Regions from separate parts of the Homo sapiens genome. Here all the other regions are linked to region 3. The links are contacts of gene promoters, found by promoter capture Hi-C in blood cells and fetal thymus (Javierre and others, 2016). All regions are on one chromosome and are shown on one strand. The core of a region is centred on a gene start or on the middle of the fragment in contact, and the rest is flanking DNA. Distances in the headings are between cores, read along the strand shown. Region 1 has its middle 8.2 kb from the start of LINC02558. Region 2 overlaps DEPDC5 (DEP domain containing 5, GATOR1 subcomplex subunit). Region 3 holds the start of PRR14L (proline rich 14 like).

Region 1 (3,222 bases), core at 123-2,622, 210 kb after region 3:
CTGTAAGATTAAATAGGCTGTGCGTGGGCCATCAGGCCCTCCATACCTTCCTCCCATACACCCTTAGAATCTGCCATCCAGAGACTGAGAGGGTCCTCATCTTAGCAGATGTGACTATCAGGCAAGCACAAACACTATGATTCAGAGCTGGGTGTGACTTAACAGGTCTTCTTTCATTATAAAACCCAATCATTAGACTGGCTAATAAAAATTACCATCTCAAATACTTACTGTGTCTTGGGTACTTTGAATGCATGGTCTCTGAATCTTTACAGCAGCCTTAGCAGTGAGGAATGTTAATATTTTTAACACATGAGGAAACCAGGTATTCGGTGATGTAACGTGCATAGCTAGTAAGAGGCAAGGTTGAGATTGAAATGGGCTGTCTTACTTTAAGGTTCTTTCCACTACGCCATGGATATTTTGATCCCCAACTAGAGAAAAGGAGTCCTAGAAATGTTATAACAAGCCTGGCAAGGTGGTTTACACCTGTAATCCCAGTACTTTAGGAGGCCGAGGTGGGAGGAGGATTGCTTGAGTCCGGGAGTTTGAGACCAGCCCGAGCAACACAGTAAAACCCCATCTGTACTAAAAGTACAAAAATTTAGCCAGCTGTGTTGTTGCATGCCTGTAGTCCCACCTATTTGAGAGGCTGAGGTGGGAGGATTGCTTGGTCCTGGGAGGTTGAGGCTGCAGTGAGCCCTGATTACACCACTGCACTCCAGCCTGGGTGACAGCCTGTCTCAAGCAAACAAACAAACCTGAAGGAATCTATTGTCAAATTCATTTCCCAAAGTTCTACTCCCATGCCATTCTGTACTAGGAAGGGGAGGGGAAATAACATTTGCTGTCTTTTGTGAGCTAGTCAGTCACCCTGCTAAGTGAAGCTTTATGTACATTTTTATTTTTTTATTATTATTTTTGAGACAAGAGTTTCACTCTGTTGCCCAGGCTAGAGTGCAGTGGCACACTCTCAGCTCACTGCAATGTCCACCTCCCAGGTTCAAGCGATTCTCCTGCCTCAGCCTCCTGAGTAGCTGAGACTACAGGTGCATGGCACCACACCTGGCTAATTTTTGTATTTTTAGTAGAGACAGGGTTTCACCATGTTGGCCAGGCTGCTCTCCAACTCCTCACCTCAAGTGATCCTCCTGCCTCAGCCTCCCAAAGTGCTGGGATTACAGGCATAAGCCATTGCGCCCAGCCTACATTTTTTTTTTTTTTTTGAGACGGAGTCTCTCTCTGTTGCCCAGGCTGGAGGGCAGTGGCACAATCTTGGCTCAGTGCAAACTCTGCCTCCTGGGTTCGAGCGACTCTCCTGCCTCAGCCTCCCAAGTAGCTGGGATTACAGGCATGCGCCACCACGCCCAGCTAATTTTGTATTTTTAGTAGAGACAGGTTTCTCCATGTTGGTCAGGCTGGTCTCGAACTCCTGACCTCAGGTGATCCGCCCACCTCGGCCTCCCAAAGTACTGGAATTACAGGCGTAAGCCACTGCACCCGGCCAACGCCCAGCCTACATTTTAAAGTTCAAGCTAATAATCTTGTGAATTAGGTCATAGCTCCAATTTAGCAGCTCAGAGAGGAAAAGTGACTTTCTATGGTCACATAGCTGAGGAGTGGCAGAGCATGTCTTTGTGCAGGGCTTCAAGATCCTTTTCATGATGCGATGTTGTCTTCAAGACAGGGGCTGAAAGCCTGCCACTCCAGGTCTTCCTTGATAAGACCTCTTTCTTCCTTGCCAGGTAGCCTTTGCTCAATCACCTTCTTTACATTCGCCTTTTAAGCCAGATTGGTCTTTTTTACTGCCCCACCCACATCTCCAGGCAATCTGGACCTTAATGTGCTTCTTACTCCTAAAGCTTGGAGCTCCTTCACTTCAAAAAGTGAGGTACTACAGTTACAGTAGGCACTGCCGTTACAGTATAACTCAAGAGGTGGATCAAAGCACCAACTGGAATCTCTCCAGCTGCACCCAGTTTGTTCAGCCTGCTCTTACTTTTGCTCAAGCCGTTACTCTCCTGTCTGGCTTTCTTCTCTTGCCCTATTCGAATTCTATCTATGAAATCTTACCTCCTCCCTGTCAGCTACTGCGATCCCTTCTTTGGGATCCAGTACTGTGGGTCTGTACCACACAATGGCATTTATCTGTCTTCATTCATTTGACAAACACATTGAAGAGCTGCCATTATGGGGTAGACACTGGGCAGGTGGCTGGAGAGACCTTAGTGAATTATACAGACATGGACATGGACCAGGGGGCTAACTCCAGTGTTAGAGTGGGGAGATACAAAAAAGTGGGGAAGATACATTAAAAAGATATAAAGTAACTAGGAAAATGTCACTCACGGTCCTCTCCAGGTCCAGCACACAAACTCACAGTAATGAATTCATGAATAACTCATTGATTACAGGTCAGAATTTTTAAAAAGAAATGACTGAGGCTGGGCGTGGTGGCTCACGCCTGTAATCCCACCACTTTGGGAGGCTGAGGCGGGCGGATCACAAGGTCAGGAGTTCAAGACCAGCCTTGCCAACATGGTAAAACCCCATCTCTACTAAAAATACAAAAATCAGCTGGGTGTGGTGGTGCACATGTGTAATCCCAGCTATTCGGGAGGCTGAGGCAGGAGAATCGCTTGAACTCGAGAGGTGGAGGTTGCAGTGAGCCGAGATTGCGCCACTCCAGCCTGGGCGACAGAGCAAGACTCTGTCTCGGGGAAAAAAACAAAACAAAACAAAGAGAAATGGCTGAAAGGAATCCTTTATTACCCCACCCAAACCTGACAGTCATGCAGCCTTGGGCTTGGCTCTAACCTGTCAACTGGCGGTGTGACCTTGAGCAAGTCCTGGCCTCTCAGCAGCCTCTGTAAAAATGAGGTTGTTGCATTTAGTGGTCTCTGGGGACCTTTCCATTTCTGAGATTCTGTATATTATTTTCAACTGCTCTGGGAAGGTCCCCTTCCTCTTCCTGGTTTTTTCCTGCATTTCTCCCCCTCCCCCTTTCCTTCCGCTCTTCACATTTGTCCCTTCTGTATCCGCCCTCAGCCCCCATTTCCTGGCCACCCCCCAATTCCACTGAGATGGTTACCATGGGAATCATCTCCTGGAAGTGACATCACACATTTCCTAGGCAACTGTTTCCAGGACAGTGACATCATCTGATCACCATGGTAACCCTCCAGGAGGCCACTTCTGCAGTGAAATGGGCAGAGAGAATTT
Region 2 (3,357 bases), core at 783-3,282, 140 kb after region 3:
CTGGGTTGAAACCTGAAAAGCAAGACTTGTCACTGGTGGTCTGTGCTGTTTGCCCATTGTGTTTCTTCATAGGTCACTGAAATAAAAAGATCTGGGGTTTAGCCTGGCTGAGGTTCTGATTCCATCATCTTGGCCAAGGCATCTTCCCTCCCTGGCTGCCATTTCCTCATCTGTAAATGAAGGGGTTGGATTACTTAGGGAGAAGTAAACTATGGCTTAAGCAGCCAAATCTGGCTCACCATTTGTTCATTTATAATTGACTATTTCTTTTAGAGCAGTTTTCGGTTCATAGCAGAATCTAATAGAAAGTTCCTGTACATCTGGCCGGGCATGGTGGCTCAAGCCTGTAATCCCAGCACTTTGAGAGGCCGAGGCGGGTGGAGCACCGGCGGTCAGGAGTTTGAGACCAGCCTGGCCAACATGGCAAAACCCCGTCTCTACTAAAAATACAAAAATTAGCCGGGTGTGGTGGCGCATGCCTGTAATCCCAGCTACTTGGGAGAATGAGGCAAGAGAATCACTTGAGCCTGGGAGGCAGAGGTTGCAGTGAGCCAAGATCACGCTACTGCACTCCAGCCCGGGTGACATAGTGAGACTCCATCTCTGAAAAAGAAAGAAAGAAAATTACTATGCATCCTTTGACCTCCACCCCCACAACCTGCTGCCCCCACTATCAACATCCCCAGACGGAGTAGTCCATTTTTTACAAGGTACAATCCATAAACCTACATTGACATCATTGTCACCCAGAATATCCATGGTTTACATTTTAGGGTTCACTCTTTGGTGGTGTATTTTTTTTTTTTTTTTTTTTTGAGACGGAGTCTCGCTGTATTGCCAGACTGGAGTGCAATGGCGCGATCTCGGCTCACTGCAACCTCTGCCTCCCAGGTTCGAGCGATTCTCCTGCCTCAGCCTCCTGAGTAGTTGAGACTACAGGTGTGCACCACCACACCCAGCTAATTTTTGTATTTTTAGTAGAGATGGGGTTTCACCATGTTGGCCAGGATGGTCTCGATCTCTTGACCTCGTGATCTGCTTGCGTCGGCCTCCCAAAGTGCTGGGATTACACACGTGAGCCACTGTGCCCGGCTGGTGTTGTATATTCTGTAGGTTTGGACAAATGTATAGTGACACGTATCTAACATGATATCCTACAGAATAGTTTAACCGCCCTAAAACTCAGTCTGCTTTTATAAAGTTTTATTGGAATACAGCCAGGCACCTTCATTATGTAACGTTTGTGGCTGCTTTTGCACTACAATAGCAGAGTTGAGTAGTTGCAACAGAAACCATATGTCTCACAAAATGTAAAATATTTATAATGGGGCCTTTTACAGAAAGGTTTCCAATATCTAGATGATTTCCAGGAAACTTCTGGAATCTGCAGTTTTCTTTTAGGCACTTGTATATAGTTTCATATCTGGATACTTAGTTATTTGTTCTTCTTCATCCCACTCCTTTTCTCACTCTCTTGGGGCCCCTCCTGTGTGCTGACATAGCTGCCACTGTCCCAGAGCAGAGGACTGTGACCCTGGATGTTGACGTGAACAACCGCACAGACCGGCTGGAGTGGTGCAGCTGTTATTACCATGGCAACTTTTCTCTGAATGCAGCCTTTGAGATCAAGCTGCACTGGATGGCGGTGACCGCAGCAGTACTCTTCGAGATGGTGAGAACCTTCATGCATGTTGTCAGGCCTTTGGCTCACCTCACAGTGGGCATGGAGATGCTTGATAGAGATTCATGTCACTTTAATTTTTTAGTTCAGGCTCTTATTACCATTCATCGGGACTATTGGAGTAACCTTTTTAAAAAATTTAAACATAGTAAAAATTTTAAGCAATCAAAAAAGGTAGAATCAGGGTTTCTTAGCCTTAGCAGTATTGACATCTGAGGCCAGATAATTCTCTGTGGGGGAGTCCTGCACCTTATGGGAAATTGAGCAACAACCCTAGCCTCTACCCACTAAATGCTAGTAGCACAGCCCCAGGTGTGGTAAGCAAAATGTCCCCAGATATTGTCACATGTCCCCAGGAAGGGGGAGTATTGCTCCCTCTTGAGAATCACTGGTTTAGAGTGAAAAGTAAGTCTGTTTCCCACTCTCATTCCCTGGGATCTACTTCTGCTTTGTTGAGTAAACTTCCAGAGAGATTCTAAGCATGGACAAAATCACGTTACTTTTTTTTTTTTTCAGCAGAGATGGTAGCATTGGATACATACTACTTACATTGCATTTTTTCTATCACCTATGTGTTCCATGTCAGTACAAATAAATCTGCCTTGGGATTTTTTTTATTATTATTGTTATTGGGATTTTTGTTTGTTTTTGTTTTGCCTCGTTGTTTTTAAGGGCTGGAGAGTTTTCTATTATTTGTTTAACCATAGTTAACCAGTCCCCTGTTAATAAACATCACTGCTTTGAACTCAGTGGTTCTTTACCTGGGCGGATTTTGCCACCCGGGATCATTTGGCAATATCTGAAGACAGAAAAGGGTGGCTGGGCACGGAGGTTCACGCCTTGGGAGGCCGAGGCAGGCAGATCACTCAAGGTCAGGAGTTCAAAACCAGCCTGGCCAACATGGTGAAACCCTGTCTCTACTGAAAATACAAAAATTACCCAGGCATGGTGGTGCACGCCTGTAGTCCCAGCTACTCGGGAAGCTGAGGCAGGGGAATCACTTGAACCTGGGAGATGGAGGTTGTAGTGAGCCAAGATCATGCTACTGCACTCCAGCCTGAGTGACAGAGTGAGACTTCATCTTAAAAAAAAAAGGAAAAAAAAAAAGAAGGCCGGGAGCAGTGGCTCACGCCTGTAATCCCGGGCCGAGGCAGGAGGATCACCTAAGGTTGGGGGTTCGAGACCAGCCTGACCAACATGGAGAAACCCCGTCTCTACTAAAAATACAAAAAATTAGCCAGGCGTGGTGGCGCACTGCCTATAATCCCAGCTACTCGGGAGGCTGAGGCAGGAGAATCGCTTGAACCTGGGAGGTGGAGGTTGCAGTGAGCTGAGATCGCGCCATTGCACTCCAGCCTGGGCAACAGAGCGAGAATCCGTCTCAAAAAAAAAAAAAAAAAAAAGGAAAGAAAGAAAGGGGTGAGGGCAGGGTGGGTGCTACTGGTGTCTAGTGGGTAGAGACCAGCAAAGCTGCTCATCATCCTATAATGCACAGGGCAGCCCCCACAACAAAGAATAACCAGCCCAAGATGTCACAAGTGCCAAGGTTGAGAAGCCCTGTTTTAACTGGTCTTCCTGCCTGTCCTTTCTCCTTCTAGTTCATCCTGGCCTGCATCTGTAATCAGGCCATTCACTGCTCCTACACTAAGAAGCCATACCTGACCATCCCCCATCGC
Region 3 (3,517 bases), core at 29-2,528:
GTGAGGCCCTCTTTGTTAATTTGGGAAAGTATTGAACAGCAGGATCTAAGGGGACTGGAAGTGTCTCTTTCTCTAACCCCTAAGTGGGAGGGAGTCTTCCACTCCAGTGAGAAAGGATGGTTGAACACTTGTGATGGAGGCTGCGAGGGGCATGCATGGAAAAATATGCTTCTCTGTGCAAGATATTAGTTTTCTTTTTTAACAGATTAAGTAATAGTAATAGCAACAGCTTACCAAAAGCTTACTATATAACTAGTATTTACACAAATGCTCCCTTAGCCCGCATGACAATTCTAAGAAAACAGAACCCAAATTGGAGATGGACTGAGATTCAGACAAGTTAAACAAATAGTCAAGGTCACAAAGACGTTAAGTGAGAGACCCAGGTTTGCAACGATTACACTCCAAAAGCCATGCTCTTAATAATGCAAGGGAAAGGAGCTCACTGCACACCAAGAGGCTTAAAGGGAAGAAGAGAAGCGAGGGTCTCTCTGTGGACATCACGAGGGGAGAGGGAGAAAGGTTGATTTCTGATACCATAAAGTAAAATTTCAAGGTCTTCCTCTCCGTATCTTGGGGTACAGGCGAAAAATAAAGGAGGAAGGTAAGTCTCTTTCTTACTGGGAAGAAAGATCCCCTCTGTCACTTTCAGGCAAGTTGGGTCTCACTCTTCACCTGGGTGACGCTGACCAAAGTTGGGGGAAAGGTCTCATTTAGGGGTTATCTTTTACTCCTCCTCAGGATAAGTTCAGAATCCCCCTCGAACCCTGGGAGTGGGTCTCCCTCTGCTGACCAACGGATGAGCGCTAAGAAAGAGCGTACGCCTCCGATAAGGGGCGTCGTCCTCTCCGAGGAGATAAGTTGGGGGATCCCTGTTGTATCGAGGTTGAAGAGGAGTCTCTCTCCCGCGTCGGAGCCATGACTCGGAGAAGCCGCTTTTCTCTAGCGACGCGGGGCCTGGTCTCCTCCCTCTCCCTGGGTCGTTCCGCCGCCCACAGGGCAGCCTTGGTTCCTTTCCGCGCCCCGAGAGGGCGGGGGGCCTGGACTCCCCTTTAGCAGCACCACCCGGCGGAGGGTCCCTTTAGGGCGGAGTGGGGCGGGGCGGCTACGCCCGAAGCCTTCCAGTCCCGGCCTCTTACCCTGAGACCTCCTCCGCGGCCCGCGCTTGCCCAGCCAGCTCAGCCCCTGCAGCTGCAGCCCCGTCGTCGCCAGGTCTACCTGAGCCTACGGAGCCGACAGAGGCCGGGGGCGCTCCGGCCGCCGCCACCTCTTCGTCTCTATGGTCCCCCTGCACTTCCTCATCCGGGGCCCGAGCCAGCCATGCGGACTCGCCCAAATCCCGCCCCCGCACCGCGCGCGCGCACTCCAAGGGAAGGCTCTTCCTGATTCTGACCTCCCGCCCTCTGCTAGCCCCAGCCTCCCTCAACCCCGCCCCTGCGGCTCAAACTCTTAAAGGGAAACACAACTTTTGGTTCTGCTCCTGCTGAGCCACAGGACCCAGTGCCGGCCTTCGCTGCTGTCACCCTGTTCCAGTCCACCGTTTTTCTAGTCTGGACGGCTACAATTCTAAGGGCCTGCCTGCTTCCACTCTGGCAGCCCGAGAGATCTTATTCTACTGGAAAGAGTGTTTTGGGTCATGACACTCCTCTGCTTCTTCTAATCACACTGACCACTAAATAAATGGCACCTCTGCCTCCAGTTGGTTACAGAACCTTGTTTTATTTTCTTCATAGCTTTAACACTAGCTGAAATTTCTATGTCTCATCTCTTTATTGACTTGTTTATCATTTATCTTCCTCCACCTTGTCTGTTTTGTTCATCACTTAATGCTCAGCACCAAGAGCAGTGTCCGGCACAAAACTAGACGCTCAATGGACATTTGAAGGAAGGAAGAAATGTTTATCCAGTGGAAGAATTGAGGTCCAGATAATGAAATCGACTTGCCCCAAATAATACGGCTTTGTGTTAAAAAATAGAAATCGACCAGGCGCGGTGTCTCACGCCTGTAATCCAGCACTTTGGGAGGCGAAAGCGGGAGAAGCACTTCAGCCCAGAAGTTTGAGACCAGCCTGGGCAACATAGTGAGACATCGTTTCTGCCAAAAAACAAACAGCTGGGTCTGGTGATGTGTGCCTGTAATCCCAGCTACTCTGGAGGCTGAGGCAGGAAGATCACTTGAGGCTGGAAGGTTGAGGCTGCAGTGAGCAGTGATAGTGCCACTGCACTCCAGCCTGGATGACACAGCAAGACTCTTTCTCAAAACAAAACAAAAATTGCTCAGGTGTTGATGCACCTGTGCTCCTAGCTACTGGGGAGCCTGAAGCAGGAGGATCGTTTGAGCCCAGGAGTTTGAAGCTGCATTGAGCTATGATGGTGCCCCCACTGCACTCCAGCCTGGGCAACAAAACAAGACACTGTCTCAAAAAAAAAAAAAAAAAAAAAAATTGAATGCTTCAAAGTTTCGTTTCTTTCTTTCTTTTTTTTTTTTTTGAGACGGGGCCACGTTCTGACACCAGGCTGGAGTGCAGTGGTAGGATCTCGGCTCACTGCAACCTCTGCCTCCCAGGTTCAAGAGATTCTCCAGCCTCAGCCTCCTGAGTAGCTGGGATTACAGGCGCATGCTACCATGCCCAGCTAATTTTTGTATTTTTAGTAGAGACAGGGTTTCACCATGTTGGCCAGGCTGGTCTTGAACTCCTGACCTCGAGTGATCCGCCTGCCTCGGCCTCCCAAAGTGCTGGGATTACAGGCGTGAGCCACCACTCCTGGCCTTCAGAGTTTCTTTATGAGAGTTGCCAAATTAAAAAGTTAAAATATTTGCCTTTTGGCCGGGCGTGGTGGCTGAAGCCTATAATCCCAGCACTTTGGGAGGCCAAGGCGGGCGGATCACGAGGTCAGGAGATCAAGACCATCCTGGCTAATACGGTGAAACCCCCTCTCTACTAAAAATTATAAACAATTAGCCAGGCGTGGTGGCGGGCACCTGTAGTCCCAGCTACTCGGGAGGCTGAGGCGGGAGAATGGCATGAACCCGGGAGGCAGAGGTTGCAGTGAGCCGAGATCGGGCCACTGCACTCCAGCCTGGGCGACAGAGGGAGACTCCGTCTCAAAAAAAAAAAAAAATTTGCCTTTTTAAGATGTCCCATTATGGACATCTCTCAGGAGAAGGAATCAAATTCCCTTGAGGGCTAAGAAGAGAGAATCCTATTAGCTTCCCCAGGGATGGAAGAATGTCCCATCAACCACCATTGCTAAAGACAAAAACTATCTTGGGGGATCTAGGTGTATCTCCTGAAGTGGCAACATAGAAACATTTTTTAACATAACATTGTTATTCTTAAAAAATTTTGTAACTGTTGCAATCCACTGTATCACATATGTTTTATTACAAGATAAACAATTTCAGCCAGGAGTGGTGGCTTGGCCTGTAGTCCCAGTCCCTTGGGAGGCTGAGGCAGAAGAATCACTTGAGCCCAGAAAATTGAGGTTGCAGTGAGCTATGATAGAACCACTGCAC

The links. Contacts are between HindIII fragments. The CHiCAGO score rates a contact against its expected background, and 5 or more counts as called.
Region 1: a contact is called between a fragment that was not itself captured here and the fragment with the promoter of PRR14L in region 3, in 1 of 17 cell types (endothelial precursors). The highest score is 6.3, in endothelial precursors.
Region 2: a contact is called between a fragment that was not itself captured here and the fragment with the promoter of PRR14L in region 3, in 1 of 17 cell types (erythroblasts). The highest score is 6.2, in erythroblasts.

The regions. Positions count from the first base shown.
Region 1 is chr22:31,961,001-31,964,222 of GRCh38, forward strand. No RefSeq gene overlaps it. Among named protein-coding and RNA genes, the nearest start is that of LINC02558, 8.2 kb to the right of the region's middle. The HindIII fragment of the contact is 975 bases long and covers 886-1,860 here.
Region 2 is chr22:31,892,080-31,895,436 of GRCh38, forward strand. DEPDC5 (DEP domain containing 5, GATOR1 subcomplex subunit) reads left to right here. Exons shown (of 43, transcript NM_001242896.3): 39 at 1,503-1,672. Among named protein-coding and RNA genes, the nearest start is that of YWHAH, 51 kb to the right of the region's middle. The HindIII fragment of the contact is 4,173 bases long and covers 1-3,357 here.
Region 3 is chr22:31,748,854-31,752,370 of GRCh38, forward strand. It overlaps PRR14L (proline rich 14 like), which reads right to left and starts at 1,279. Exons shown (of 9, transcript NM_173566.3): 1 at 1,140-1,279. RefSeq lists enhancers at 289-921, 1,161-1,720, 1,210-1,504. The HindIII fragment of the contact is 5,796 bases long and covers 239-3,517 here.